Regions from separate parts of the Homo sapiens genome. Here all the other regions are linked to region 1. The links are contacts of gene promoters, found by promoter capture Hi-C in blood cells and fetal thymus (Javierre and others, 2016). All regions are on one chromosome and are shown on one strand. Each heading gives the region's core, a stretch centred on a gene start or on the middle of the fragment in contact. The rest is flanking DNA. Distances are from core to core; before and after follow the strand shown.

The links. Contacts are between HindIII fragments. The CHiCAGO score rates a contact against its expected background, and 5 or more counts as called.
Region 2: a contact is called between a fragment that was not itself captured here and the fragment with the promoter of MBD2 in region 1, in 1 of 17 cell types (M0 macrophages). The highest score is 9.0, in M0 macrophages.
Region 3: a contact is called between a fragment that was not itself captured here and the fragment with the promoter of MBD2 in region 1, in 5 of 17 cell types (total CD4 T cells, M0 macrophages, total B cells and 2 more). The highest score is 8.0, in total CD4 T cells.
Region 4: a fragment that was not itself captured here is called in contact with the fragment with the promoter of MBD2 in region 1 in 7 of 17 cell types (total CD4 T cells, activated CD4 T cells, total B cells and 4 more); the score reaches 11.2 in total CD4 T cells.
Region 5: a fragment that was not itself captured here is called in contact with the fragment with the promoter of MBD2 in region 1 in 2 of 17 cell types (neutrophils and activated CD4 T cells); the score reaches 9.5 in neutrophils.
Region 6: a contact is called between a fragment that was not itself captured here and the fragment with the promoter of MBD2 in region 1, in 1 of 17 cell types (naive CD8 T cells). The highest score is 6.3, in naive CD8 T cells.
Region 7: a contact is called between a fragment that was not itself captured here and the fragment with the promoter of MBD2 in region 1, in 2 of 17 cell types (total CD4 T cells and activated CD4 T cells). The highest score is 6.5, in total CD4 T cells.

The regions. Positions count from the first base shown.
Region 1 is chr18:54,222,934-54,226,329 of GRCh38, forward strand. MBD2 (methyl-CpG binding domain protein 2) reads right to left here and starts at 1,736. Exons shown (of 7, transcript NM_003927.5): 1 at 1,085-1,736. The coding sequence starts at 1,626. RefSeq lists a silencer at 1,437-1,826 and enhancers at 2,577-3,119, 3,120-3,396. The HindIII fragment of the contact is 9,949 bases long and covers 1-2,102 here.
Region 2 is chr18:50,850,434-50,853,982 of GRCh38, forward strand. No RefSeq gene overlaps it. Among named protein-coding and RNA genes, the nearest start is that of ME2, 27 kb to the right of the region's middle. The HindIII fragment of the contact is 304 bases long and covers 1,503-1,806 here.
Region 3 is chr18:57,575,277-57,578,843 of GRCh38, forward strand. All of the region lies in intron 2 of FECH (ferrochelatase), which reads right to left. Among named protein-coding and RNA genes, the nearest start is that of FECH, 9.6 kb to the right of the region's middle. The HindIII fragment of the contact is 226 bases long and covers 1,564-1,789 here.
Region 4 is chr18:50,872,473-50,876,065 of GRCh38, forward strand. No RefSeq gene overlaps it. Among named protein-coding and RNA genes, the nearest start is that of ME2, 4.8 kb to the right of the region's middle. The HindIII fragment of the contact is 2,517 bases long and covers 163-2,679 here.
Region 5 is chr18:57,632,019-57,635,762 of GRCh38, forward strand. The region is part of intron 1 of ATP8B1-AS1 (ATP8B1 antisense RNA 1); the gene reads left to right. Among named protein-coding and RNA genes, the nearest start is that of ATP8B1-AS1, 3.6 kb to the left of the region's middle. RefSeq lists an enhancer at 852-1,700. The HindIII fragment of the contact is 5,144 bases long and covers 1-3,744 here.
Region 6 is chr18:50,831,947-50,835,258 of GRCh38, forward strand. No RefSeq gene overlaps it. Among named protein-coding and RNA genes, the nearest start is that of MRO, 14 kb to the left of the region's middle. RefSeq lists an enhancer at 648-757. The HindIII fragment of the contact is 1,345 bases long and covers 753-2,097 here.
Region 7 is chr18:50,931,898-50,935,690 of GRCh38, forward strand. ME2 (malic enzyme 2) reads left to right here. Exons shown (of 16, transcript NM_002396.5): 13 at 361-463. Among named protein-coding and RNA genes, the nearest start is that of ELAC1, 34 kb to the right of the region's middle. The HindIII fragment of the contact is 2,935 bases long and covers 69-3,003 here.

The DNA of each region.
Region 1 (3,396 bases), core at 486-2,985:
CAGAGCTACTTGAAGAGGACAGGAAATCCTTTATAACATTATTACAATAGCTAAATGACAATTGTCTCCAATACCCATATACATTCCCTGAAAAATGCTTCAGTCAGTCCACAAACACGTACCTCCAAACTACTGAATACAAGTTTATATTATCTTCTATCAATAGCATGGCTTATTACAAAATTTAGTAAATGTGTATTAAGTCCACGGATGTCAATTGCCATAGGCACTTTCTTGAGCTTACTGGGTCACACAAACTGAAGACATCAGCAGCATGACCACGGGATTGCAAGATTACACTAAGGTGAAAAACCTTGAATCATTTAAAACAGGATGTCTCAACCTCAGCACAGGTGACAATTTGGGCCAGATCATTCTTTGTTGTGGCAGCTTTCCTTTGTATTATCGAATATGTAGCAGCATCTCTGGCCTCTACCCACTAGATGCCAGTATCACACCCTCCCCAGGTGTGAGAACCGAAAATGTCTCCAGACATTGACAAATGTTCCCTGGGGAGCAAATTTTGGTCTAGGAGTCTAAAAACTTAGTACAGTGTGTCAGTTTCAAAAGAGTATATTCTGCAATACCAAGAAGTTCCAAAAAAACTTCAGGCATTCCAAATAGCTGCTTTATACAAAACTTTCTTGGATGAAGTAAATGAAACCTTGTTACTGTAGATAGCTCATTCTTCCACATGTGCATGCTTAACACTTGTGATGATGAATCTGGGACAGGCTGGGACAGGAGCCAACAGTGACTGGGTTTTATAGTTTCGATGAATTACACCTCCTTTTAACCCTTCAGTGGACTAACCATCCCTGCCAGGCTAACCCTTTCTTCGCAAACCATCTTCCCCGACGCCTTCCACATAAGATGCCCTCCTGCGGGCCCTCACCTTTTGACACTGCCTCCCACCGCACTGGGGTCAACTCTCACCCAAGGGTTCCGCCACCTTCCACCACCAAACCAGCCTGTCCCTGCCACATGCCCCCCGGGCCCCAGCGCTCATCCTCTGCCCAGGCCCGCTCTTGACCCCTGACCCCGGCCTGACCCCGCCACCCCCTCCCCGCCCCCAGGGAGGTACCTGAAGTAGTAGACATCGCTCTTGCCAGCACTTAGCCCAGATTTTCGGATCACTTCCTCCTTCTTCCATCCGGGGGGGAGGGCCGGGCAATCCATCCTCTTCCCGCTCTCCGTGGCCCGGGGTCCCCTGGGCCCCGGCCCCGCGCTCCCCGACGGGAAAGGGACCGGCTCCCGCCGGGGGGCGCCGCCGCCACCGCTGCCGCCGCCGCCGCAGCCGCCGCCGTCGCCGCCAAGGCCGCTGCCGCCACTCGGGGGACGGCCGCGGCCCCGGCCCCGGCCCCGTCCCCGTCCCCGGCCACGGCCCCGGCCCCGGCCACGGCCACAGACGCCGCCGCCCCGGCCCGCCTGCTTCCACCGCCCCCGGCCACGGCCGCCGCCCCGAGCGCCTTCCCTGCGCACGCCGCTCACCGGGGACGGGGCGAGCGCGCTGCCCTGGCCCCCCTGCTCTATGGCGGAGTCGCCGCCAGCGCCGCTGCCGCCCGCCGCACTCTCCCCCTCCTCCTGCTCCGGGCAGCAGCGGCCTCCCCCCGGGTGCGCGCGCATCCAGCCCCCTCCCCAGCCGGCGCTGCGCTTCTTCCGTAACCGAGCCCTTGGAATCCCGGAGACCCGCCCCGCCCGCAGCGCGGCGCGCGGGGGACGCGCGCAAGCATCATAGAGCGGGCGCGCACAGAGCGGCCCTCCTGCCCGGGGCGTGGCCCCGGCCACCGCCTCTTAGGTCCTCCAAGCGCTATGGGCGGCCATCTTGTCTCCGCCTTCTCGGGGCCACGCCCCCTCCCGCGCTTTTCCGGCCCCCACTGGGCGCGCGGAGCTGGGAAGGTTGGTCGGGCTAGCCACCAGCTGGGGGTGTCATAGTGACTGTGGTTAGTTTGTTTCAAACGGGGTAACCTCCACCATTATGTGATTTTACCTATGTTTGCTTCCCAATTAATGAATAACAAGCAAAATAGATCTTATATTACATACCAACTCGGCTATTCATTTAAGGGGGTGATAGCCCCTTTTCCCGCCCCTCTGCACAAAGCTTGCAGGGGAGCTTATAATGAAGGAATGAAGCAAAGTGTCCCATTCGCTGAATACCAGTTCCCTCCTGAGCCTGGCTTCAGAGCCATTGACAGATTCTCCTGGAACCTTGTAAGGATGTAGGAAAGGAAATGATAACTTGGAATATGCCCATGAGTCAGATGGGGCTTACCTCTAGATTCTCCTTAGAATGACCAGAATCCCTAAATCCATCTAGAAATTTCCAGATGTCTTTGTCTAATACAAAAATCAGTGGCCTTTTATTTGGTAAATATTCCATTATGTTGAAAGTCCAGCCTAACTTACTGTCACAAGCCTTTAGGAAACTGTGTGGTATTCTTTTCGGTCTGCCAACTTGAATTTTAGAAATGCATATTTTCTATAAGTTGTCGAACACTTATAGAAGTGTGCTATTGATATTCAAGATAATATATTATGAAATATTTGGAAGATTGAAAAATGTAAAGCACATGTTATCAGCCTGATGATAAGCTATCTTGGGTTTCTATACTCATATGCCCTAAAAACTGAGGACCAAGTTTAACGTATAGAAAAAGTTGATTAATATAAAGCAACAAAAATCTAAAATTAATTTGGTTTATCTTTGCAGTATATGCAAACATTAACTCATACACACAAACTTGTCTGTCTCTAAACCTGACCTTAGTCTTCTTTTAATGTCCTTTAGTTGAAAGACACTAATTTGTGGTTTCCTACAAGAAATTTAGAAATGTGAATGTAAAAAATCATCAAGAAATGAGTTCTGAGGAGATCAGTACTGGAGACATTCATTTAGAAGTCATCTGTGGGCCGGGCGCGGTGGCTCACGCCTGTAATCCCAACACTTTGGGAGGCAGAGGCGGGCAGATCACCTGAGGTCAGGAGTTCAAGACCAGCCTGGCTAACACGATGAAACTCCGTCTCTACTAAAAATGCAGAAAATTGGCTGGGCGTGGTGGCGGGCGCCCGTAGTCCCAGCTGCTCCGGAGGCTGAGGCAGGAGAATGGCGTGAACCCGGGAGGCGGAGCTTGCAGTGAACTGGATCACGCCACTGCACTCCAGCCTGGCAGACAGAGCGAGACTCTGTCTCAAAAAAAAAAAAAGAAGTCATTTGTGGCCGGGCGCGGTGGCTTACTTCTGTAATCCCAGCACTTTGGGAGGCCGAGGCCGGCGGATCACGAGGTCTAGAGATAGAGACCATTCTGGCCAACATGGTCAAACCCCATCTCTATTAAAATACAAAAATTAGCTGGGCGTGCTGGCGTGCGCCTGTAATCCCAGCTACTCGGGAGG
Region 2 (3,549 bases), core at 405-2,904, 3.4 Mb before region 1:
CCCATAGCCTGTGCTTCCACTTCTTCTCTCACCTGTTGCTTTTCAAGTCCTCTTACTGAATGGGTTCACTTGATACCCTTAAAGAAGCCAGAGCTTGGTCAGGCACGGCGGCTCATGCCTGTAATCCCAGCAATCCCAGCACTTTGGGAGGCCGGGGAGGGCAGATGGCTTGAGCTCAGGAGTTAGAGGCCAGCCTGGGCATTTGAAAAAAAATTAGTCAAGTGTGGTGGTACACACCTGTTGCCCCAGTTACTCTGGAGGCTGAGGTGGGAGGATCATTTGAGCCTGGGAGGTCAAGGCTGCAGTGAGCTGAGATCGGCCACAGCACTCCAGGCTGGGACAACAGAGCAAGACCCGGTCTCAAAAAAAAAAAAAAAAAAAAAAAAAAAGAAGAAGAAGAGGAAGAAGTCTGAGCTAGGCATGTGCAACTACCACAGGCAGACTTAAGCTCCAAGAAGCCATGTTAACTCCTTCCCTAGAAAATCAGTATGGTCTGTATGAGAGCAGGAGAGCAATCAGCTGGCTCAGTAGAAACCTCTCCCTACTGCACATGAGCAGAATCCTTCCTGCAACAGAAATCTGGAACATCTTGTTCAGTGAAATCATTTCTCCTTCAAGAAAACCTATGCCAGTGCTTACGATGACAGACTATCCATCCCTGACATAGGACTCTGCGTTGACACGGAAATGTGATCTGAGTCTGCAAGGGCCTTGGGGCAGGACCCTCTGTCTCTGATAGGACTAGAGGTCACTGCACTCATATATTGCCTATCAAGACCACCCTTCCTAATTTAGATTTTTTTTTTTTTGAGATGGGGTCTTGCTCTGTTGCCAGGCTGGTCTCAAACTCGTGGGCTCAAGCGATCCCTCCACCTTCCCGAGTAGCTGGGATTACAGGCTCAAACCACAATGCCCAACCCAATTTAGATCTTATTTTCTTTTTCTTTCTTTCTTGTTTTTTTGTTTGTTTGTTTGTTTGTTGTTGTTGTTGTTTTGTGACAGAGTCTCACTCTGTCCCCAGGCTGGAGTGCAGTGGCACGATCTCGGCTCACTGCAAGCTCCACCTCCCAGGTTCACGCCATTCTCCTGCCTCAACCTCCTGAGTAGCTGGGACTACAGGCGCCCGCCACAACGCCTGGCTAATTTTTTGTATTTTTATTAGAGACGGGGTTTCACCATGTTGGCCAGGATGGTCTTCATCTCTTGACCTCGTGATCCGCCCGCCTCGGCCTCCCAAAATGCTGGGATTACAGGCATGAGCCACCGCGACCAGCCTAGATCTTATTTTCATTTGATGCAAACGGGGCTTCAAACCAATGAGCCGCATCAGTCCAGGCTTGGCTACCCACGACTAGTCTGTCTTCGTACAGCCAGCACCTCCAATTCAATTTGTCCAAAATAGAACCCTTCACCTTTCCACACGCTGGTTTTTCAATCCTTAACAAGTGTATCTATTTCCCAGGTTGGGAGGCCTTACAGACCTTTCCACTACTCAACCCCAAAGCTTGTTTCCTACCTGGGCCTACTCAGCTGCTGGAGTCTCCTCCCATCTTTGCTGCAACCTCCTGGGGTGAAGCCAGGGTTCCGCTCCTCATCCAAGGATTATCGCCAAAGTCAAAGTTAAGTCAAAGGAAAGAATGTCCAATCCCTTTTCCTAGGGAGATTTTTTTATCACCTCTCCCATGGCACAGAAACCAGTGGTAAACTATAGATAAACTCATAGTTTGCTTCTGTTTCCAAAGGGAAGCTCACCAATGCCTCATCACCTGCTTCCTTCTGACCTGACTTTCAACCCAGGACAATGCAAGCTTGCAGAACACGCGGGCTGCTCTTTATCAAGCAGTCTGTTTGTGTTTCTAAGACTCTCCCTGATTCTATTTTTTGGGTTTTTTTTTTTTGTTGTTGTTGTTGTTGTTGTTGTTTTTGTTTTTTCAGACGGAATCTCACTCCGTCACCAGGCTGGAGTGCAGTGGCACAATCTCAGCTCACTGAAACCTCTGCCTCCCAGGTTCAGGTGATTCTCCTGCCTCAGCCTCCCAAGTAGCTGGGACTACAGGTGTGCGCCACCGCGGCTGGCTAATTTTTGCATTTTTAGTAGAGACAGGGTCTCACCATGTTGACCAAGCTGGTCTCGAACTCCAGGCCTCAGGTGATCTGCCTGCCTTAGCCTCTCAAAGTGCTGGGCCTCCCTGATTCTGTTACTCTGCCTGACCAAAGAATGATCACTTCCCATTTTCTCACATCTCTTTGAAAAACCAATTACTCTTAAAACTTTAGAAAAATGCCTCCCTCTCTCTGTCAAACTTGCAGAGCTCTGTGTTCCATCTCTTCCTTTCCATTCCCATTCCCCTGGTCTAGTCTAGGGTATTGTTCTACCCTCCTACATGGTCACCTGGTTCCTGATATCACTCCAGAATGATACTTCTAAACCACATTTTGATCATGTCACTACTGTCACCCCATTCCCCTGCAACCTCCAAAAACTCTTACTAACTCTCCATTGCTTGCAGAACAAAGACCAAATTATTTTGCATGGTATTGAAGGCTTCCACATTTGAGCCCCAACCTGCCAATCTAGTCTTGCTTACATTCTTCTGTTCCAAATTCCTGCTAACAGAACAAGCTCTAAGATTTCACATCTACTTCTCTGTCTGGAATTCATTTTGACCTATCAGAACTATGGCTATCCTTCAAGACTCAGATAAAATGACAAATGACATCTACTACACAAGCCTTCCTTGATATTCCCTACCTGAAATGTTTTCCCCCTATTCCTGGCACTTCCACGAAACTCCCCCTTATAAGCATTTGTTACCTTTTACTTTGTATTACAGTAACTTGTGCACACAGCCCAGTTCTTATCCCAAATTGCAAACTCCACAAGGCCAAGGACAGTGTTATTGAATTTTATATTCTTTTCAATCCCTAGTACACTCCCTTTCATAAAGTTACTTAATGAAGTATTTATTAAATCCATTAATCCAGCTGGGTGCAGTGGCTCATGCCTGGAATCCCAGCACTTTGGGAGGTTGAGGTAAGCAGATCACTTGAAGCCAGGAGTTAGAGACCAGCCTGGCCAACATAGTGAAACCCTGTCTCTACTAAAAATACAAAACCCTGTCTCTACTAAAAATACAAAAATTATGCACCTATAGTCCCAGCTACTCAGGAGGCCGAGGCACAAGAATCACTTGAACGCAGGAAGTGGAGGTTGCAATGAGCCAAGATTGCACTATGGCACTCAAGCCTGGGCAACACAGTAAGACTCTGTTTCAAATAAATAAATAAAAAAGAAAGAAAAATTCATTAATACACTAGGGGTGAATGTTGTCAACAACTTTTTTTTATAGTTAAGTAACTTCAACTTTAAACTTTTTAAATTTGCACGTTTTGTCCAGAAATGATGTTAATCATTTATCATACAACCATATCCTCAGTCCAGAGGTTAATCTATGCAGAAAGAAGCTTTCATTATACATCCAAGTGAGTTACATTTCAGATAACTGTGTAGTAGTGCCTACTTGGCACTTTTCATAAGAATCAATTCTT
Region 3 (3,567 bases), core at 427-2,926, 3.4 Mb after region 1:
TCTAAACACCGTTATTATGAACGCTGAGGGGTCTACTTCCTGAATCTCCTACACCAGACTACCTCTGACCACTGCAGTGACTAAACCAATGCTGCTGAGACAGAGCCTGTATAGAGAAACATTCTTTATGTGCTCGAAAACTAAAGATACTATGATGACATCTTTTTTGTTTTTGTTTTTTTTTGAGACAGGGTCTCACTCTGTCACCCAGGCTGGAGTGCAGTTGCACAAACAAAGCTCACTGCATCCTCGACCTCCCGGGCTCAAGTGATCCTCCCGCTTCGGCCTCCTGAGTAGCTGGGACCACAGGCACATGCCTCCATGCCTGGCTACTTTTAAAATTTTTTATATAGACAGAGTCTCGCCATGTGGCCCCGACTGGTCTCAAACTCCTGGCTCAGGCTCCCAAAGTGCTGAGATTACAGGTGTGAGCCATTGCCCCAGGCTTATGGTGACATCTTAATGGGCAATTTTTAAACAATTATTAACAACATTTGGCAATAACGTAAGGCAGCAGGGTATGTCAAATGTAAACAGGTAGAAACTGTTTTCTTGATCAAACCTGTTGTATAAGTGGATGAGGTAAAAATCTGAATTCTCAACCTACTTTTTCAGAATACGAATCAATTCCTGGGGAAGGAGAAATATGGCATTACAATGAGATCAGGGATTTTCTCATTTAGACCCCATTATAAAGATTAACTAAGGTCCCTTTTCACATCAATGCCTTCAACCGGGGTTTTTCAACCTCAGCACTACTGACGTTTGGGGCTGGAGAGTCCTTTGTTGTAGAGGACGGCCCTGTGCAATGCAGGAGCCTTGGCAGCATACCTGGCCTCTACCTGTACACAATAATAGCACACACCCCACCCCAGTGTGACAACCAAAAATGTCTCCAGCCATTGCCAAATTTGTCCCAGGAGGCAAAAATGCCCCCTTCCCCCTATTGAGAATCACTGTCTTAGAGAAAGAGGGCTTAATCCCCTTCTAAAACAACCAAGCAACTGCACTGAAGATGTGGTTGTTATATAACTCTTCCATGCTCGAGTCCTACAACTGCATTAACGGGTGTGTTGAGTTTTCTTTCCTTGATATTTGAAAATTCCAGATGCATTATTTTGTGAAACTAATATTCGTTTAATCTTTCTACTTAGACCACTAGTCTTCTCCTGGGATCCTGTCTTTCACCTTCAAAATCTGTGACTCACAATAAATTAAGTGCATTTTCCCATGGATTGCTGCCAGTTAACAGATTACTGGTTAAAAAAACCTCAGGCTAAAAGACTTACCTAAGCCACAGACGGTATCAGTGTGCAAACGGGATTTAGAGCTGTTTTTCATCTATAACACCTGAGCTCAGAACAAGAGTGGCTTTAAAGGGGATGCTACTCTGCCCTGCTCATGGTTTTGCAAACGCATGTTGATCTTACACATGAAAGAGATGCACACGACTTGAAAATACCTAAATACACATGCACTTAATTCAAAACTGTGTTGTGCATGATGAATAGCGCATTAGTAAGCCCCAGTCTGACACCCCTCTATTCCAGAATGTGAAGTGAAAGCTTTAGTCAAGGGTCTCCATCTCCTCTCCCTCCAGACAGAACACACCTGAGACCAAGGTCTGAACGTTCATGTTCCGTTTGTTTGAATATAAAAGTGTATACAGCAAAATATATTTAAAACTTCTCACTTGGAAAGGTTTCAACATTTTGCCATTTTTATATCCCAGGACTCTCAAAATACAAGGTTTTTCCGTGAAATATTAAATGTACGTAACAGAAACTTAAGCTTGTCAATTAATAAACAATAATTCTATTCTACTCTATATGGTCAGCCTCAAGAAAAAGTAATACGATCCCAGCTCTTCATTAAACCTCTAAGACATGATTGGCCTGTGGGTCTATGATGCCTCTAGAACAGAATTTGGTGAACTATAGCCCATGCACTAAATCTGTATACACACATACACCCCTACTGCCTGTTTTTGTAAATAAAGTTTTACTGGAACACAGCTCCCCTCATTGTTTATGTAATATCTATGGCTGCTCTCACACTACAACAGCGGAGTTGAATAGCAGCAAAAGACAGAGTTTGGCCTACAAAGCCTGAAAAATTTACTACCTAACCCTTTACAGAACTAATGTCAACCCCTGGCCTAGTGTAGTGTCTACTCTAGTATTGCAGTCTAGTCCAGCCCAAGCATTAAGCAGCACAATGCCTTCATAATGACTGCCATCAGAAGAATCCACAAAGACACTCACTGCTTCACCATTTCTAATATTAAAAAACTAGAAATCACCTACGTGTCCCAGAATGTTGGTCAAGGTAGTTTATGACTTAATAAAATACTCTTCAGTTACTAAAATAATATAGACAAGTATTTATGATGATAAAGTAAATAAAAAGAGGGCATTATAAATATATGATGTACAGTACGGTCACATCTTGCTAAATACATACAGAGTGAATATTTAATAGTCATACAGACAAAATTGGCCTGGCTGGTCGCTCACACCTGTAATCCCAGCACTCTGGGAGGTTGAGGCAGGAGGACTGCTTGACCCCAAGAGTTCAAGACAAGCCTGAGCAACACAGTAAGACCTCGTCTCTATTTTTTTTTTAAGAAGACAGAGAGAGACAAAATATTGGGTGGTAAGATTATTCATAATGTTTTAAGGTTTTTTTTGTTGCCTATCCGTATTCTCTAAAATGATCCCATTTATTTTATATAAATATGATCTAAAGTTACTTAGTAGAATTTAAAGACTTTCATTTAATTTTAATAATATTAAGCCTACTTATATTAATGAGTTGCTGCTAGAAAAACACACAAATGAAATAATTTTTCTTCTAGGATTCCAAACTGAATCAGTTCTTCAGTTTCTATCAAATCCCAACCCTCAGTGCATATGGCTGAGGTGGGGAGAGGGGCTGGGAGGGGCAAGGAGAAATGGAATGGGCCCTGCTTGGCAGGCTGCCAGATGAAGAAGGTATCTAATGCCCATCCCCAACTAACCTCAGGTTACACAGCACTCAGTCATCATACCCATGATCATATAGCAAAAAACAATAAACACACAATAAGAAAATTTTGGTTCTGGCCAGGCACGGTGGCTCGTGGCTCATGGCTCATGCCTGTAATACCAGCACTTTGGGAAGCCATGGCAGAACTGCTGGAAGCCAAGAGTTCAAAACCAGCCTCGGCAGCAAAATGAGACCCCCATCTTTACAAGAAAAAAAATTTGTTTTAATTAGCTGGGTGTGGTGGTGTGCACCTGTAGTCCTAGCTACTTGGGAGGCTGAGACAGGAGGATCACTTAAGCCCAGGAGTTCAAGGATGCAGTGAGCCATGATCACACCACCGCACTCCAGCCTGGGTGACAGAGCTACACTCCTCAAAATAAAAACGGTGGCTCACGCCTGTAATCTCAGCACTTTGGGAGGCCAAGGTGGGTGGATCACTTGAAGTCAGGAGTTCGAGACCAGCCTGGCCAACATGGTGAAACCCCATCTCTACTAAAAATGCAAAATCAGCTGGGTGTGGTGGCATGCACCTGTAATCCC
Region 4 (3,593 bases), core at 171-2,670, 3.4 Mb before region 1:
AGCTCCCTGGTGATTCCAGTGTGCGTTTACATACTATTACACCAGTGTTCACTGAAGAGCTGAGATTAGAATTTGTCCTTGAATTACGAAGCAGTTTTTAATTGACAGCTTACAGCGGGGAAGTCTTTCCCAGGTTGGGGAGTGGGGTGACATAATGCTCCAAGCTTACTTTCAAATCTTTCCAAGACACTGAACTGTACATAAACATATTTTAAAATATTCAGTCTGTACAGTGTAGTTTGTATCCTCTTTCCACTTATTAGTGGTACCCTTGGATGAATCAACCTCTAAGTCCTCAGTTTTCCCATATGTAAAATGGGGATAATAATTATACCTACCAGCTGGGCACAGTGGCTCATGCCTGTAATCTCAGCACTCTGGGAGGTCAAGGTGGGAGAATAGCTTGAGATCAAGAGTTCAGGAGCAGCCTGAACAACATAGCAAGACCTTGTCTCTACTAAAAATAAAAAACATTAGCTGGTTGTGGTGGTACATGCCAGTAGTCCCAGCTACTTGGGAGGCTGAGGCAGGAGGATTGCTTGACCCTGGGAGATCAAGGCTGCAATGAGCTACAATTGGCACTGCACTCCAGCGTGGGTGACAGAGCAATACCCTATCTTGAACAACAACAACGACAAAAACAGGAGTGGCACGGTGGCTCATGCCAGTAATCCCAATACGTTGGGAGGCCAAGATGGGAGGATTCGTTGAGTTCAGGAGTTCAAGACCAGCCTGGGCAACATGGCAAGACCCCAACCCCATCTCTAAAATAAAATAAAGAAAGAAACAGAAATAATTATACCTACTTGATAGCGTTGTTAGGATAATTAAATAATTTTAATATATACATGAGGTGGGCGGGGTACAGTGGCTCATGCCTGCAATCCTAGCACTTTGGGAGGCCAAGGGTGGATCACCTGAGGTCAGGAGTTCAAGACCAGCCTGGCCAACATGGCAAAACCCTGTCTCTACTAAAATTACAATAATTAGCTAGGTGTGGTGTCACACACCTGTAATCCCAGCTACTCAGGAGGATGAGGCAGAAGAATTGCTTGAACCTGGGAGGCAGAGGTTGCAGTGAGCCAAGATCATACCACTGCACTCCAGCCTGGGCAATAGAGCAAGACCCTGTCTCAGAAAAAAAAAAGTAAAAATAAATAAAATACACTAGGTGCCTTAGAGCAACGCTTAGCAAATAGTAAGTACTCAATGAATGGTAATTATTATTTATCAAACATCATCTATATGCCAGGCAGACAGCCTGCATGAGAATACTTTGCATCTGTATCCTTTTAATATTCACAAAACTCTTGCATATTTTGTGTCTCATTCCTCTTTTCAATGCCCTTTGAGATACATAGGGAAAGTTTAATTGTGTCCACCTAACCGGAGAAAAAGACATCCAGCCTCTTATTAAGACAGTGTGAGAGCTAGCCCTAGAATTCAAGTATTCCACACTCCCAAAGTGTGCTTTTTCCTTCGATGTAAATAAGTAAATGAACAAAATAAAACAAAAGCAAAAAGAAAAAATTTGAAGAACTGAGGCATTTGTCCAGATAATTTTCAAACATCCCCTCCATGCCTTCCACTCCCACCCCATAGGAATCCAAACAACCTTCCTTCTATCATTCCCTGATTATCTATAATTGGGGTGTCTAATTTATGGATAACTTATACTCTGCTTGGAGTTATATTTCTTGCTCAGCCATAGTTCTAGTCAAAAATTGTCAGGTTTTATCTTCATTTACTGGAGAGACCCTGCATTTAGAAGAGATTCTTTCCTTCTCTCAAGGATTATCCAGAAAGTGATTGAGCCATGTTTAGCCTTAAATCCTACCCTCACATTTTTGTGAAAAAGCCCATATTTGTATAAATCAACTCTAATTGGGTTTTCTGTTGTTGGGAGCTAAAAATCATTTCTAACAGTTACTGTTAAAATGCACAAAAATCTTGTTCCTGTCGTAATATCTTCATTTATATTTCCTCCTTTAGAATAGCTCATTAACTCTTATTAGGTCAAATTGAGGATGTCAAGTATAAACTACTAGTAGTAGATTAGTAATAATAGTAGTAAGGATAATCATAGTACTGTTTTGATTCTGTGTGCCCTGACCTACTATATATTAGACCTTAACATTCATTTTTAAAAACTCTATACTTGAAAAATAACTACACACTTACATTATTTCTGGAGACCTATGGATGTATATAATTCCCCTTGGTCTTTTAACTGATGAGACATCTTAGTGTCTCACTATAACTATTACTGGATCAAAGTAGCTTTTTTTTTTTGGAGACAGGGTCTCACTCTGTCACCTAGGCTGGAGTGCAGGGATGCGACCTCAGCTCAGTGCAACCTCCGCCTCCTGGGCTCAAGTGATCCTCCCACCTCAGCCTCCCAAGTAGCTAAGACTACAGGCATGCCCCATCAGGCCTGGCTAATTTTTTTTTTTTTTTTTTGTAAAGATGAGGTTTCACCATATTGCCCAGGCTGGTCTCAAACTCCTGTGCTCAAGCAATCCACCCACCTTGGCCTCCTAGAGTGCTGGGATTACAGGAGTGAGCCACCTCACTCAGCCCAAAATAGTATCATTTAAAGATGAAATAGCTCAATTCAAGCAAGAATGCTGGACAGATAGGGGATAAAAGGTAAATGCAAGAAAGCACAGTATTTTTCAAAGCTTAAGATGATCATGCAGAAAATTCACAACCAGTTGCAGAGTAATGACTACTTTATTTAACCCAGGAGTTATATCCGCCAGTGTAATTCTTGCCTGTAGAAACCAGCAGAGGGAAATTTCAGAAGGTTTAGACACTATGTTTCTACTAATGATTACTCATGTTTTCCAATTACATGTGTCTTTTTCCTGCCTTTTCACTGCTCAGATCCCAATATATGTAATATGTCACTCAGCAGCTGTTACATGAAAGGAACATGTTAGGTTGCTGTATTAACTTTTCCAGCATGCATGTGTGTGCACTGGAGAAGAACCCAGGCTCTTCTACTCCTCTGACATCCTTAGAGTGCAGGCCTTCATTCTCTTGTTTGTCATCTTATGGCCCAATGATGGGTGCCATGCCACTACACATCTGTGGCAAAAAGTGAGATGAAGCAAAACAGCCAAAGACACATGCCAGTTGAATCTGTTCTTTTTTTTAAAAAAGGCTTTCCAGAAGCCCCGGCCGTCAGCTTCCTTGTATGTGTTTCTAACAGGGTCACCTTAGACCCACATGATCCAACTGAAATAGAGTGCAAGCCACAAATAGGAATTACGTATATAATTTTAAATTTTCTGTAGCCACATTTAAAAAGTAAAAGAGGTTTAAAAAATAACTTTAATAATATGTTGCATGAACCGAAAATATACAGAATATTATTTCAACATGTGATCAATATTTTAAAAATTAAGATATTTCCATTCTTTACATGTTTTTGCACTGTCTGCAAATCCAATGTATATCTCAACTTAAAATAGCCACATTGCAAGTACTCAATAGCCATATGTCACTATATTGTAAAGGAAAAGAAGCCTGTGACATTGTGATAGAATAGGAATGTATATTTGGTCTCTGCCCTGGTTCCTGAGAAAAAG
Region 5 (3,744 bases), core at 788-3,287, 3.4 Mb after region 1:
TTTCCAGGCTGTGTATGCTCTGGCTTACCACTGCTTCTTATTTTTTTTTTTATTATTTATTTATTTATTTATTTATTGATTGATCATTCTTGGGTGTTTCTCGCAGAGGGGGATTTGGCAGGGTCACAGGACAATAGTGGAGGGAAGGTCAGCAGATAAACAAGTGAACAAAGGTCTCTGGTTTTCCTAGGCAGAGGACCCTGCGGCCTTCCGCAGTGTTTGTGTCCCTGGGTACTTGAGATTAGGGAGTGGTGATGACTCTTAACGAGCATGCTGCCTTCAAGCGTCTGTTTAACAAAGCACATCTTGCACCGCCCTTAATCCATTTAACCCTGAGTGGACACAGCACATGTTTCAGGAGAGCACAGGGTTGGGGGTAAGGTCACAGATCAACAGGATCCCAAGGCAGAAGAATTTTTCTTAGTACAGAACAAAATGAAAAGTCTCCCATGTCTACCTCTTTCTACACAGACACGGCAACCATCCGATTTCTCAATCTTTTCCCCACCTTTCCCCCCTTTCTATTCCACAAAACCGCCATTGTCATCATGGCCCGTTCTCAATGAGCTGTTGGGTACACCTCCCAGACGGGGTGGTGGCCGGGCAGAGGGGCTCCTCACTTCCCATAGGGGCGGCCGGGCAGAGGCGCCCCTCACCTCCCAGACAGGGCGGCTGGCCGGGCGGAGGGCTGACCCCCCCACCTCCCTCCCGGACGGGGCGGCTGGCCGGGCAGAGGGGCTCCTCACTTCCCAGTAGGGGCGGCTGGGCAGAGGCGCCCCTCACCTCCCGGACGGGGTGGCTGGCCGGGCAGGGGGCTGACCCCCCCACCTCTCTCCCGGACGGGGCGGCTGGCCGGGCGGGGGGCTGACCCCCCCACCTCCCTCCCGGACGGGGCGGCTGGCCGGGCAGAGGAGCTCCTCACTTTCCAGTAGGGGCGGCCGGGCAGAGGCGCCCCTCACCTCCCGGATGGGGTGGCTGGCCGGGCAGGGGGCTGACCCCCCCACCTCCCTCCTGGACGGGGTGGCTGCCGGGCGGAGACGCTCCTCACTTCCCAGACGGGGTGGCTGCCGGGCGGAGGGGCTCCTCACTTCCCAGACGGGGTGGCTGCCCGGCGGAGGGGCTCCTCACTTCTCAGACGGGGCAGCTGCTGGGCAGAGGGGCTCCTCACTTCTCAGACAGGGCGGTTGCCAGGCAGAGGGTCTCCTCACTTCTCAGACGGGGCGGCCGGGCAGAGATGCTCCTCACATCCCGGACGGGGCGACAGGGCAGAGGCGCTCCCCACATCTCAGACGATGGGCGGCCGGGCAGAGACGCTCCTCACTTCCTAGATGGGATGGCAGCCGGGCAGAGACGCTCCTCACTTTCCAGACTGGGCAGCCAGGCAGAGGGGCTCCTCACATCCCAGACGATGGGCGGCCAGGCAGAGACGCTCCTCGCTTCCCAGACGGGGTGGCGGCCGGGCAGAGGCTGCAATCTCGGCACTTTGGGAGGCCAAGGCAGGCTGCTGGGAGGTGGAGGTTGTAGCGAGCCGAGATCACGCCACTGCACTCCAGCCTGGGCACCATTGAGCACTGAGTGAAGGAGACTCCGTCTGCAATCCCGGCACCTCGGGAGGCCGAGGCTGGCGGATCACTCGCGGTCAGGAGCTGGAGACCAGCCCGGCCAACACAGCGAAACCCCGTCTCCACCCAAAAAATACGAAAACCAGTCAGGCGTGGCGGCGCGCGCCTGCAATTGCAGGCACTCGGCAGGCTGAGGCAGGAGAATCAGGCAGGGAGGTTGCAGTGAGCCGAGATAGCAGCAGTACAGTCCAGCTTCGGCTCGGCATCAGAGGGAGACCGTGGAAAGAGGGGAGAGGGAGAGAGAGGGAGAGGGAGAGGGAGAGCTGCTTCTTATTTTTATTTATTTTATTTATTTATTATTATTATTTTTTTGAGACGGAGTTTTGCTCTTGTTGCCCAGGCTGGAGTGCAATGGAGCGATCTCAGCTCACCGCAACCTCCGCCTCCTAGCTTCAAGTGATTCTCCTGCCTCAGTCTCCCAAGTAGCTGGGACTACAGGCATGCGCCACCGTGCCCAGCTTATTTTGTATTTTTAGTAGAGACGGGGCTTCTCCATGTTGGTCAGGCTGGTCTTGAACTCTCGACCTCAGGTGATCTGCCTGCCTCGGCTTCCCAAAGTGCTGGGATTACAGGCGTGAACCACCACGCCCGACTATTTTTTATTTGTTCTTTTGAGACAGGGGTGATCCTCCCACCTCAGCCTCAAAAGTAGCTGGGACTTCAGGCACACACCATCACACCTGGCTAATTTTTTTTTTTTTTTTTTTTTGTAGAGACGGGGTTTGGGGGTTTTGCCTTGTTGCCCAGGTTGGTCTCGAACTCCTGGGCTCAAGGGATATGCCCACCTTAACCTCTCAAAGTGTTAGGATTACAGGTGTGAGCCACTGCGCCCAGCCCTATTGCTTTTTAAAGGTACAATTAACTTTAGCCCAGGCTAGCTTTTTCACTGAATTGATCTGGGTACGATGTGGGGTTTGGGATAGCTGTTCAGAAAGGTGAAGACAGAGTCAAAGAGAGAAAAACATTTTCTCTATAGAGGTGGGGAAACTTTCAGAGAGAATTAATTGTGTCCTCTAAAAGCAATGAAGTCCGCTTGGTTAGTTTGAAGAACGATCATGTATCAGTTTATAGGAATTGAGACTTTTTTTTTTTTTTTTGAGATGAAGTCTTTCTCTGTCCCCCAGGCTGGGGTGCAATGGCATGATCTCAGCTCACTGCACCCTCCACCTCCCAGGTTCAAGCAATTCTCCTGTCTCAGCCTCCCAAGTACCTGGGATTACAGGCGCCTGCCACCACGTCTGGCTAATTTTTGTATTTTTAGTAGAGATGGGGTTTCACCATGTTGGACAGGCTGGTCTTGAACTCCTGACCTCAAGTGATCCGCCTGCATTGGTCCCACAAAGTGCTGGGGTTACAGGCGTGAGCCACCATGCCCGGCCGGAGTTGAGGCTCCAAGGGGTCTCGGGGGGTCTCAGAAGCTCAGCTGATGATATCTTAATCAGGTTTGGGTTTTTTTTTTTTTCTGTTAGAACAGGTCATAAAAATACTTTCACCCCAAGCCACAAAATCCTATAAAATAGCTCAGTCTTTGACAAATACAGTGAATATAAAAGAGCTCTTTTGAGTTTCTATTTACTCAAGATGTTTGCAGTGATAAAATCTTGATATAAGTTTTCTAGAATCTTGAACTTTCAAAGCTCCTTTAGAAACAGTCCTTTGTGTTGTTTTTATTAAACTCTTCAATGAACACAAAGTTTTTATGTTGTTCACACAAAATTTAAATAAGGAAGCTGAAGGTAGGTGGGAACCCCCAAATGGATGGTAATAGAAAACCTCCTATAGCATTTCCATAGACTGGTTTATTCATTATGCAGCTTGGCTCAGCAGAACCATTTTATAATGAAACTGCAAGATGACTCCCAGTGGGCAAATCAACCTCTATTCTAAAGGTTGATTCTTGTCAACTGGGAGAATTGATTCCTGATGAGAAATGCTAGACTAAAAAACCCTCCCACATTCACTTCACAAGCCAGATCCAATATCTTTAATCCTCTTATGGAAAAGAAACAAGGAGACATTTCAGGGCTTACAACAGCCTTCCAGAATAATTGCAACAGTCTCACAGCATCAGGGGCCAAAGGAATATTGACATCTTTCCAACTGGAAATCCTAAACCGGTTAT
Region 6 (3,312 bases), core at 175-2,674, 3.4 Mb before region 1:
CACTAAGGCACACCACATCATCAGTGTAGGAAATTATTTACAACTCCCCTCCCAAACATGTACCCCAAATGGTCATCTAAGAGTACAGTTAGGATACTTCTTGAGATGATGTGCTGAAAGAGTTAGTGGCCTGGGAGCCTTTGCAGAATTGCACTAATGGTCATGAAAGGGACTGATCTACCATAATTATTTTAGTGGCCCCCCTACCCTGGGCATTTGTGATGTTGATGGGCAATTAATTTAATAGCCAAAGCTTGGCTATGACCAGTCATTGGCAGTAGGGAGTAACCCTTCCCCCTTCCCTTTGCTGTTTCCTTGCAAGGACCTGCTACACGAGATGTTTGTCTTCATGGTGTGACTTGACAATGCAGCTTAGAGCTATAGCAATTTTGCTAAAATATTTTAGACAAGTAAACTCCAAATACTGAATGGAAAGCCGTTGTCTTTCTGGAAAGCTCTTAGCTAGAGTCCTTCATGATGTTTTTCCTCCCTCCTCTCCCCACATCCAGCCATCATTCCTCTTCCGCCTAAAATATCTAGCAATTACAAACAAAATGAGCTTCAGTTGCTAAAGTGGGAAGCAGGGGATTTCTAGTCCTTGGTGACTTTACTGCTGCAATCAAAATAGGCATTATCAACCAGAAAGCTTCCAACGCTGGAAGCTCCAGGGCACACCCAGGAGATGTGCTGTGGAGTGAGGCTAGGTTGTGGGCAGGGGGTAAATAAAGACAACACACACTGTTTAATCAATAAGCTTCTGGAAAGGTGACATAAAGACGGAAACTGTAAAATCAATGAGATTTTAAAGTTAGGTAATAAGAGTTGGTTGTTTTACAGGAAATACAAATGAAAAATCATTTTCTATTTTTTTCTGCTTTCAAGTTTTGAATTTAGGGCTTTCTAAAAGTAGCCAGCCAGTTCTTTGAGGCTGGGGTTCCACAACCTGCAGATCTGAACAAAAGAGAAAGTAATGAAGGGGAACCTATACCGATGTTACTCAGCATCATGTGCTTTGGGGCCACATTATTCATTTGAACTGGTAATGGCGGAAGGAAGAACCACCTGCCCTCTGTCTTCCAAGTTATCTTTAATATCAATTAGCAACAAGATTTGCAGGCCAGGTGCAGTGGTTCACACCTGTAATCCTAGTGCTTTGGGAGGCAAATGCAGGCAGATCACTTGAGTCCAGGAGTTCAAGACCAGTCTGGGCAACACGGCAAAACACCATCTCTATAAAACATTTTAAAATTAGCTGGGTGTAGCTATGCATGCCTACAGTCCCAACTACTAGGGAGGCTGAGGCAAGAGAATTGCTTGAGCCCAGGAGGTGGATGTTGCAGTGAGCTGAGATCGTGCCATTGCACTCCAGCCTGGGTGACAGAGAGAGACCCTAGAAGATTTGCAAAAATTCCAGAGTCTCATGGCTTCAACCTCGAGCATATGTTTCTTGGTAATCCTGTCACTTCATTGGTTTGGGTTCAATAAACAATTTTATATATAGATACACATACACATATATATATGTATAAATATATGTATATGTAAATATGTGTGTGTGTGTGTATATATATATATATATATATACACACACACTTTTTTTTTGAGGTGGAGTCTTGCTTTGTCACCCAGGCTGGAGTGCAGTGGTGAGATCTCGGCTCACCGCAAGCTCTGCCTTTTGGGTTCTAGCAGTTCTCCTGCCTCAGACTCCTGAGTAGCTGGGATTACAGGCATGTGCCAACGCACCTGGTCAGTTTTTGTATTTTTAGCAGAGACGGGGTTTTGCCATGTTGGCCAGGCTAGTCTCAAATTCCTGAGCTCAACTGATCCACCCGCCTCGGACCCACAAAGTGGCTGGGATTACAGGCATGAGCCACCACACCCGGCCTTTAGAATATTTTCTGAATGCACATCTTGGGCACAATATGGCCAAGGAGATCAAATAGATGAAAAATAAAAGAAGTTTATAAATTAATTAAGGAATCAAAACAAATTGCCCTGATTTTATTCTCTGTGCACTTCACATCATTTCACATCTTGCGGATCTTCCTAGAATCCTCAAGAACTTTTTAAGTTCAGGCTCCTCATACAGATCCTCAAAGCTTTCCAAGCTCTGCCCCACTTTATTTTTCTAGCCTTATTTCTCCTAGCCCTGTCATCTGCACACGTTCCACTCCCCAGCCCCCAAGGCAGGGTCTCCCTCTCTCTCCAATACCATCTGCTTAGCTCAACCTGCCTGTTATTGTTCATAAACCATCACCACAACGGTACAGGTCAGGACGGCTTTATGTAAGCAATGGTTTTGGAAAATGAAAGACAATTTCAAAGATCTCCTGTCGTGGTCTGAGCCAATTAGCTTCCATCTCTTCACTTTAGATATGCTCATCCTCATCCAAATAACAATCTTTTATATGTAGTAAAAGTTAATTGACTCTCATAATTTTGAATATATGGTAATTCAGACAAGGATTAATTTGAAGTTTGACTTTTGCAACTGACAAATGGCAGTAATTGGTATACAAACAAACTTGATGTGGGAAAGGTTTAAATATCTTAAAAGATCTAAATTTTTAGCACCTTCAAGTATTTGAGGAATATCCTTTCTGGTATACCAATAGAAACAAAGCTTTTCTATTTACCACAGTAAAATCCATGTAGATCATAGAAACAAAGCTTATCTGTTTATGAAAGTAAGATTCACATAAGTAATCTACAAAGATTTTATTAACTTAATTGAGATACTGTCAATACTTCAAAGTAATCAAAATGCTATTCCTTTACATATTAAATAATTTAACTTTTTCGTCAGGTTGCTCTCAATTTAGTGCAAGTGAAAAAGACATTGAGAAAGAAAAGAATATATATAAATACTTCTTATTTAAGTAATGTGACCCCTTTTAAATTATCAGGCCCAGAGAGGCATTAATATGAGACAGCAGTTATGTCCTACTTCTTCCCACCCCGACTTGAGCTATGTAATTGTCTCTTTTTTTTTTTTTTTTTTGAGACAGGGTCTCCCTCTGTCGCCCAGGTTGGAGTGCGGTGGTGCAATCTCGGCTCACTGCAACTTCTACCTCCCAGGTTCAAGGGATTCTTGTGCCTCAGCCTCCCAAGTAGCTGGGATTACAGGCGCACACCTCTGCGACCAGCTAATTTTTGTATTTTTAGTAGAGATGGGGTTTCGCCATATTGGCCAGGGAAAGGTCGAACTCCTGGCCTCAAGTGATCCGCCCGCTTCAGCCCCGCAAAGTGCTGGGATTACAGGTGTAAGCCACTGCACCTGGCCTGTAATCATTTCTTGAAACTGCTTGCTAT
Region 7 (3,793 bases), core at 286-2,785, 3.3 Mb before region 1:
ATCTCAAACTCCTGGCCTCCAGTGATCTGCCCACCTTGGCCTCCCAAAGTGCTGGGACTGCAGGTGTAAGCTTCTGTGCCTGGCCTTAAATTTCTTAAAAATAAGTGTCTGGTTTTTAAATTTTTAGTAATAAATGATTTTTAACTTTATTATTTATTTATTGAATGTATACTACACATGAAACAAACCTCATTCTAACAAAAGGATTGTAACGAAAAGATTGTTATATAGTATATTATGCCTTGCTTCCAAGTAATATATTGGTCTATTTTACTTCAGGACTTGATTTTGTATGAATTCACCTCAATTTTCTCATCCACAGAAAATAACAAAATTGAAGTTATTTCATTTTATTAACAGGGCAGGTGTTTGTTTGCCAGTGGCAGTCCATTTGGGCCAGTGAAACTTACAGATGGGCGAGTCTTTACACCAGGTCAAGGAAACAATGTTTATATTTTTCCAGGTAAATGCCACCATTATTTATGTTATAGAGCAATAGTTAATTATGTAAAAATACTTAATGGAATTCTTTGGAATGGGAGACTGAACTGAGCAACAGTATTACAGAATTTTGGTATAAATGTACAAGGAAACTCAAGGAATTCATCAAATTCAGCATGCTCCACTTTCTCTGAAAATTTATTCATATTGTTAATTAAATTTGTTTTTATTATAGAAATAATATATTGCATGATTTGTAAAAATGCAGAGGAACAGAATGGCACAAAATTATGTAACCCTTTCTATCTCCCCTTGGTGTACCTCCTTAATCATACTTCTCAGAACCATTGTCAATAATTTGCTGGGAGTTCTTCTGATGGTTACCATCGTGACTGATAGATTTATTTCCCAGGTTCAAGCAGTTCCCCTGCCTCAGCCTCCCGAGTATCTGGGACTACAGGCATGCACCACCACACTCAGCTAATTTTTGTATTTTTAGTAGAGATGGGGTTTCACCATGTTGACCAGGCTGGTCTCGAACTCCTGACCTCAGGTGTTCTGCCCATCCCAAAGTGCTGGGATTACAGGTGTGAGCCACCACGCCCAGCCAGGTGTTCTTATTTTGTAAGATACACCCAGTATACTGGTATCACACCAAAGGAAATTAATAATAATTGCTTAATATCGTTTATCATTACCTCAGTTCAACAACTTATTTTTATTCCCAATACCTTTTTTATTCTAGAATTGCTCTTTCTAAATAGCTACTTTTAAAGCAAAAATGGTTACAGTACTCATTGAGCTTTTTCTGGAGAATTATTAGGATTCCTTTCAATGTTTCTGCCTTTGTGCTGTATTTTCCATAAATTTCTAGTGATCCTCAGTTGTCTCTTTCTTTTAAGCAAGACTGTGTTGAGTAAAACAGGAATTTTGTATGATTTTCTTTTGCACTTGTGTCTTTTTTCTTCTGGTAGGTCTTTCCCTGACTAGCTGACAGCAGGCTCTAATTAAGATATGACAAGTTTATATAGGCTGGCATCAGGCAAGCATGTATAACTGTTGTCAAAGTAAAGAGGGTATTTAGTCTGTGAATATCCTGGTACTTTTCTATATTTTTCTCCTTTTTTTTGCCCCTCATGTTTTCCTATATGTCTCTTGAGACCTAACTTCTATAATAGAAACTGTCCTGTCATCCATAATCTCTTTCTAGAACTTGATAATGTTCAAAATTAATGTGTTCTATTCAGTAACATTTCTATGGCCTAAAAGACATGAGGGCAGGAAAGGAAATACTTTTCTGCTGATTTTAACAAAGCTATTTTTTTAAACTTTTTTTTTTTAGTTCCAGGGGTACATATGAAGGTTTGTTATATAGGTAAATTGTGTGTTGCAGGGGGTTTCATGTATAGATTATTTCATCACCCGGCTAATAAGCATGCTACCCGATAGGTAGTTGTTTGATCCTTACCCTCTTCCCGCCCTCTACCCTTAAGTAGGCCCCAGTGTCTGTTGTTCCCTTCTTTGTGTCCATGAGTTCTTATCACTTAGCTCCACTTGCAAGTGAGAACATACGGCATTTGGTTTTCTGTTCCTGTGTTAGTTCACTTAGGATAATAGCCTCCAGCTCCATGCATGTTACTGCAAAGGACGTGATCTCATTCATTTTTTTGGCTGCATAGTATTTTTTTTTATTTATACACATGGTGTATATGTGCCACATTTACTTTATCCAGTTTACCATTGATGGGCATTTAGATTAATTCTATGTCTTTACTATTGTGAATAGTGCTGCAGTGAACATACACATGCATGTGTCTTTATGGTAGAATGATTTATATTCCTTTGAGTATATACCCAATAATAGGATTGCTGGGTCGAATGGTTGTTCTAAATTCAGCAAAACCATATTTTATATCATATCTGAGTATTAAGGAATTTAGCAGTTGATTATTTTTATATAACACTTTAAAATCCTAACTTAAATAACAGCTATGGATACCATAAATATAGACATTAAAAATGACCTGGTCAGGCATGGTGGCTCTCGCCTGTAATCCCAACATTTTGGGAGGCCGAGGCAGGAGGATTGCTTGAGGCCAGAAGTTTGACACCAGCCTGGGCAACATAGTGAGACCTTGTTTCTTCCAAAAATTAAAAAAATTAACCAGGTGTAGTGGTGCACACCCCTATTCCCAGCTAGTCAGGAGGCTGAGATGGAAGGATCGCATGAGCCTGGGAGGTCCAGGCTGCAGTGAGCCATCATCATGCCAGTGCACTCCAGCCTGGGCAACAAAGTGAGACTGTCTCAAAAAAATAAAATAAAATGACCTGGCATTTGAGGCAGAAATGAGCCTAAAAGCAGGAGGATTGGCTGAAAGTCTGTTTATAAAGCAACTTAAAAAAAAAACTGTTAATATTTGAATGACCTAGTTGAGCAACTATAACAACCGGATGAAAATTTTTTTTAAGACTTTAAAAGGGTCAAAGGGATAAGATATTGACTCTAATGGAATATTGGAGAATTCTGGACCAAGGTTAGGGAGGGAACAAATGCACAGAACAAGCTTTTGAAGCCAGTTTTACAGTGGAAATATAGACCAGGAAGAAAGTGGCTAAGAGGTACAGCTGTGCTTTTCATGGAAAGTGGACAAGATCGGCACCATGTCCGAGTCTGGCACTACCTCCCACTCTGGACTGAAACCCTAAAGTGCTGTACCTTGGATTGGGGGTATAGTTTGCAGCAGCAATGGGTGATTTAGAAAACCTCAAGCCTCTGTTCGGGACTGCCAGTGCCCACAAGTGCCCAGCGGAAGCAAACAAAAATTTCTCTGAAATAAGATAATGGCATCCTAGTCCTCAAATTATTTTTATAAATTTTCAAGTACAACCTAAGTAGAAAAATAAAAAAAAAGATAATGAGGCACATAAAGAGACATAACAACAGAAGCCAAAACCAGCAAAAACAAGAAAAACAGACACACTGAAACCCTGGATATACCGTAAATGCTATGAAACAAATATGCTTATTATGTTTATAGAGATAAAAGCCAATCTTAAAAACTTAAGACAAGTACCACTAAATTCTAGAATTGAAAAATGTAGTAGTCTATAAGAACTGAGTGAGCTGGGTGTAGTGGCTCATGCCTGTAATCCCAGCACTTTGCGAGACCAAGGTGGAAGAATTGCTTGAGCCCAGGAGTTTGAGACCAGCCCTGGCAACGTAGTGAGACCCCCATCTCTATAAAATTAAAAAAAAAAAAAAAATTAGCCAGGCATAGTGGCATATGCCTGTAGTCCTAGCTATTCAGGAGGCTGAGATGGGAAGATCACTCGAGCTTGGGAGGTCAAGGCT